Regions from separate parts of the Homo sapiens genome. Here region 2 is linked to region 1. Evidence: promoter capture Hi-C in 16 types of primary human blood cells and fetal thymus (Javierre and others, 2016). All regions are on one chromosome and are shown on one strand. The core of a region is centred on a gene start or on the middle of the fragment in contact, and the rest is flanking DNA. Distances in the headings are between cores, read along the strand shown. Region 1 holds the start of GSTM4 (glutathione S-transferase mu 4). Region 2 overlaps LOC124904258 (a long non-coding RNA gene).

Region 1 (2,500 bases), core at 1-2,500:
CAGGCACCGCTTCTCTCTCCTACACTCAACCCCTCTCCCACTCCACTGCCTCTCAGTGTGCAAAAACAGTAAGAAGTGTCCCGTATTTTCAAAATCTCTCCCCTGTAGTTCCCACCTGACTTCTAGTCGTAGGTGGCCAAAGTACAGTGTTTTTGAAGGATTGTTTTATTCCCAGTGCCTGGAATATGGTAGGATCTCAACAACTGTTGTTTCAATAAAGGAATGACCAAATGGGTGAATACTAATGTAACAATATCAATTCTGTTTCTTTCATAATTATTCTCATAAGTGTTAGCTTTCTTAAAAAATCATCTTCACAATTGGACCTAGACATTTTATCTTTCCCAGCTCAAGATGGATAAACTCAGAATGACAGGCCAGGCACCGTGGCTCATGCCTGTAATCCCAGCACTTTGGGAGGCGGAGGCGGGTGGATCACTTGAGACCAGGAGTTCAAGACCAGTCTGGTCAACACGGTGAAATCCCATCTCTACAGAAAATACAAAAAAGTTAGCAGGGCGTCGTGGCGCTCGTCTGTAATCCCAGCTGCTCGGGAGGCTGAGGCAGGAGAATCGCTTGAGCCCGGGAGGCGGAGGTTGCAATGAACCGAGATCGCCCTACTGCACTCCAGCCTGGGCAACACAGCGAGTCCCCGTTCCAAAAAAAAAAAAAAAAAAAAGACTCAGAATGACACATTCTTAATGTCTTAATGTATAATGAGAAGTATAACTATTCAGAAGTCCAAGCACTTGTGTGTGCATGGTGCTATCGTCTTGCTGTAGGCAAACCTACATGGGAATCCACCTTGACACATAGGCCACTTCCTGAGCCTGGACCCAGTCTCAGAGCTGGGGAACTGGCCCAATGCAAAAGGGTCGGGAGCATCTGCAACAGAGACTGAGCTCTATCAGCTTCGGTGACATAGCCTCCATTCACGCTCCCCAACTCAGCAGAGAGAGCACACCATCAGACTTCTAAGACTTAGTAGCCAAGAAGTGTTGAATTAAACTCTCTGAGACCTCTCTTTAGTCTGACCCTGGCAGCCTCAGTCTCCCAGAGCCTGTGGGAACTCGGCAGCCGAGAGGCAGAAGGCTGGGCGACGTCCGGAGAAGAAGAAACGGGGGAAGAACTTTTCTCTTACGATCTGGCTTTACTCTCACGCGCACAGCCGAGTCCCTGGGGACCCAGCAGAGGTCCGAAGCGGAGCGGGGCGGGGCGGGGCTACGGAAGCTGGCGAGGCCGAGCCCCTCCTAGTGCTTCCGGACCTTGCTCCCTGAACACTCGGAGGTGGCGGTGGATCTTACTCCTTCCAGCCAGTGAGGATCCAGCAACCTGCTCCGTGCCTCCCGCGCCTGTTGGTTGGAAGTGACGACCTTGAAGATCGGCCGGTTGGAAGTGACGACCTTGAAGATCGGCGGGCGCAGCGGGGCCGAGGGGGCGGGTCTGGCGCTAGGTCCAGCCCCTGCGTGCCGGGAACCCCAGAGGAGGTCGCAGTTCAGCCCAGCTGAGGCCTGTCTGCAGAATCGACACCAACCAGCATCATGTCCATGACACTGGGGTACTGGGACATCCGCGGGGTGAGTGAGGGTCCGCTGCACTGTGGGACCGGGCGCGTGGGCGGGAAGTGCCGAGCGGCTGGGGACCGGCTCTAGGGACGGTTCCCTCCTTAGGGCTATCTCTCACAGGAGGGCCTGTGCATGCCTGTGTGTGTGTGTGTGTGTGTGTGTGTGTGTGTGTGTGTGCGTGCGCCGGGGTGGGGGGGGGGTGCAGTGCAGTGTAGACTAGGGGCTCACCTGGTGCAGAGAAAGTCACCAAGTCAGGGACCCTCCATCTCTGACACGACCTGCGGGCCATCTCTTCCAGCTGGCCCACGCCATCCGCCTGCTCCTGGAATACACAGACTCAAGCTACGAGGAAAAGAAGTATACGATGGGGGACGGTAATGACACCCTTGTGTCCGGGCTCTGCCCACTCACGCTGAGTTGGCACCAAGCAACCCATGGTGGCCACCTGTGGCTACCTCTGCAGGCCTCCCCTGCTGGAGCTGCAGGCTGTCCCTTCCCTGAGCCCCGGTGAGGGAGTCCTGTGGCCTTGCAAGGCAGAATGCTGGGGCGGGATGCTGGGCCCCCTGTTTAATTGGGTTGGGTGTCCCTCAGAGCTTCCCTAAACCCTGGAAGCCTTAGCCGTGTGGGGTCCAGAGCCCTCAGCGGGATTCTTTGTCCCTGAACCCTGGGATGTGGGACTGAGTGGTCAGATTCTAGATCCACCTGTCTCAGGGATCTTGCCACTGGTTCCTTGGGAGGGTCCCCGGGAAGGAGGGCTGGGCTCTGGGGAGGTTTGTTTTCACTTCTTCTTCCCCACGGCAGCTCCTGACTATGACAGAAGCCAGTGGCTGAATGAAAAATTCAAGCTGGGCCTGGACTTTCCCAATGTAGGTGCAGGGGAAGGGGCGGTTTTGGGGGAAAGTGCGACGTGTCTCTGACTGCATCTCCTCTCCCCA
Region 2 (3,055 bases), core at 437-2,936, 110 kb after region 1:
AGGAAGGCCTCTGTTTCCCGCATGTCCCTGGGAACAGAATGTCTCGGTGTAAAGCCGACTGTTCGTTCTATTCTGAGATAGGAGAAAACCGCCCTGTGGCTGGAGGCGAGATATGCTGGCAGCAATACTGCTCTGTTACTCTTTGCTACGCTGAGATATTTGGGCAAAGAGAAACATAAATCTAGCCTACGTGCACATCCGGGCACAGTACCCTCCCTTGAACTTATTTATGAACAGATTCTTTTACTCACATGTTTTCCTGCTGACCTTCTCCCCATCATCATCCTGTTCACCCTGTTCTCCTGCCACACTCCCTTTGCCGAGATAATGAAAATAGTAATCAATACATACTGAGGAAACTCAGAGACCAGCACCGGTGCAGGTCTTCGCATACTGAGTGTGCTGGTCCCCTGGGCCCACTGTTCTTTCTCTATACTTTGTCTCTGTGTCTTCTTTTCTCAGTCTCTCGTCCTACCTGACGAGAAATACCCACAGGTGTGGAGGGGCAGGCCCCCTTCAGGTCCCTGAGGACCCAGATTGTTTTCTGCCACTGTCTAGAGGAGAGAAGGGCTTGTAAACAAAAGCACTGTAGTATGCAGGCATAAAGAACCTTACTCGGCTTGGGGGTGTCAGGGAGGACTTCTCAGATGAGGAAATGCAAGGGCTGGCCCTTCAATGACACACAGGAGTTCAGCCAAGAGGTGAAGTGGGCAGGGAATTGCAGGCAGAGGGATTGCAGTCCTACTGGATGAAGCGGCCTGGGGAGAAGATGGGTATGGCGTGAACTGTGTGTGTGCACGCGTGTGTGTGCATGTGTATGTGTATGTGGCGGGGAGGTGGTGGCAGATGACAGCATATGTGTGCCGTCATCACCTGGTGGTGAGTAGAGCCATTGAATGGTTTTGCATGGAGATGCAACAAGAAGGCTACTGGGTCTTCTGTCTTGTGGAAGACGCTGCCGCTTGCTGGTTCTCAGCATATAAAGAGACCCAGGTGCACAGGCTTTAGGCTAAGGGGCCAAGGAGCCCCTCCCACCACCCTGGCCTGGGCCAAGAAGCAGGGTGGGTTCCTTGGAAGCTCCAGAGCAGGCCCTGGTCAGAGCTGGGAAACTCTGGAGGGCTCTGAGGAAAAGAGCTCTGTGTTCATGGATGACCATGCAGGGGGTAGGGCAGGGCCCTGGCATTCAGAGGTGAATGGGTGCCGCCTCACCTTTAGAACCAGACCCCAGAGCAGGGTCCAGCCAGCACCTCTTGCTGGTGGACTGCATGGATGAGGCAGCCTCAATGTCAATCAGGGGCTGATTGACAACTCTTCTTCCCAGGCCGCTTCATCCAGTAGGACTGCAATCCCTCTGCCTGCAATTCCCTGCCCACTTCACCCCTTGGCTGAACTCCTGTGTGTCCTTTAAGGGCCAGCCCTTGCATTCCCTGAGTCATGGTGGTCCTGTCCAGGGGCTGACACCTGGCCCTGGGGCTGCTGGGGAATCACAGAGACAGCTCCCATCCCTGCCCCTGCTTTCCCCAGCCCTGGCACAGGGGTAAGTGGCTTCTACGAGCCAGGTGGAGACATAAACAAGAGAGATGATGTCCCTCCCTCGCAACTAACCTGCCAAGGTAGAAGAAACAAATGTATCTGAAGATAATCAAGGTCCTGACAAGTGACAAGAGAGAAATAGAGTGAAGTGGATGATGGCATGGGGGTGGGAGGGTGTTTGGAAGCACGACGTCGGAGAAGGCTTCTCTGAGGAGGGGAGCTTCAAGCTAAGCCAGGGATGGGAAGGAGCCTGGGAGAGGGGGCCAGCAATGTGAAGGGCTTGCAGCTGAGAAGGAACGAGCTGGCGGAGAGGTGACCGAAATGGGGTGGACAGGGGCCAGAGCACACAGGGCTCCGTAGACCATGGCCAGGAGCCTGGTTTTTATTCCAAGGGCAGTTGGAAGACACGGAGGGGTTTTAAATGGAGGAGTGGCATGATTGGATTTATGTTCTAGTCACAACTCTGGCTGGGGTGGGGAGAATGGGCTGTGGGGGGAGTGGGGGCGGACTCAGGGAGACCACAAGCAGCTGCTGCAGAGAGGGTGGTGAGGCCTGGACATGGCAGGGCAGTGAGGATGGAGACTTAGGCTGCAGGTGGAACGGATGGGACATGCTATGGATTAGAATGGGGGTTGAGAGGGGAAAAAGGACCTATTAGGACTCAGGTTTTTGGCTTGGACAACTGGGAGGGTTATGGTGACATCTGGTGAGATGGGGAAACCGAAGAGAAGAGGGATTGGGAGGCAGGGGGATATGAAGAGTTACTGTTCCATTCTGGATGGCCTCAGTTTGAGAGGTGTTTTGGGCCTCTGGGTGGAAGTAGCAGGAAGGCAGGGGCAGGTGTGAGTCAGAAGCTCAGCAGAGCAGGATGACCACATGCAGGCATTCAGAAGCATGTGGAGAAAGATGATTCAATGATGCGGGGAACGTTTGCAGTGTAGAAGACAGTAGATACTTGGCAGCTGTAAATACACGAATAACATTCAGAGACCTAAGACTCACGAGACCACATGCGGGAAAGTGTATAGATAAAGAGAAGGGGGCTCACGACTCAACCCAGGCGCTCCAACATTAAGAGATTGGGAAGGATGAGGGGAGACTAAGGGGCTGCCAGTGAGCAGCAAGGAGAGCTGGGAAGAGAGTGTTTCAGGAAGGAGGGGTGGACACCTGGGCCAGGTGCTGCTGGGAGGTGGAGGAAAGGCTACCATCTGTGGGTTTGCAGTGGGGGCTGGAGCCAGCTGGGGACGGCTGAAGAGTGTGAGGGTGAGGAGGTGGGCTGTGAGTGAGTCGCCGAGTGTAGACAGTGGGCATGGGAGGCTTTGCTGGGGATGGGATGGTGGGCCAGGGATGACATACCAGAAACTTGTTCAGATGTGTTCAGGGTGGAAGACTTGGCATAATGGCTAGTGGGAACACACTACTGCAGAGACAGATGAGACAACAGAGATCCTGGGCGCATGGCAGGAGGGCGGTTTCTGTGGGAGGGCAGGGGAGAAGGTGGGCTTGTCTCTGGAGCCTCTGG

The links. The method cuts DNA at HindIII sites, captures the fragments that hold promoters and counts their contacts. A CHiCAGO score of 5 or more calls a contact.
Region 2: a contact is called between a fragment that was not itself captured here and the fragment with the promoter of GSTM4 in region 1, in 11 of 17 cell types (M2 macrophages, endothelial precursors, megakaryocytes and 8 more). The highest score is 10.7, in M2 macrophages.

The regions. Positions count from the first base shown.
Region 1 is chr1:109,654,849-109,657,348 of GRCh38, forward strand. GSTM4 (glutathione S-transferase mu 4) reads left to right here and starts at 1,251. Exons shown (of 8, transcript NM_000850.5): 1 at 1,251-1,577; 2 at 1,864-1,939; 3 at 2,367-2,431. The coding sequence starts at 1,542. RefSeq lists enhancers at 969-1,018, 1,892-2,477. The HindIII fragment of the contact is 5,301 bases long and covers 1-2,500 here.
Region 2 is chr1:109,767,096-109,770,150 of GRCh38, forward strand. All of the region lies in intron 1 of LOC124904258 (a long non-coding RNA gene), which reads left to right. Among named protein-coding and RNA genes, the nearest start is that of EPS8L3, 4.7 kb to the left of the region's middle. RefSeq lists an enhancer at 2,484-3,055. The HindIII fragment of the contact is 5,200 bases long and covers 1-3,055 here.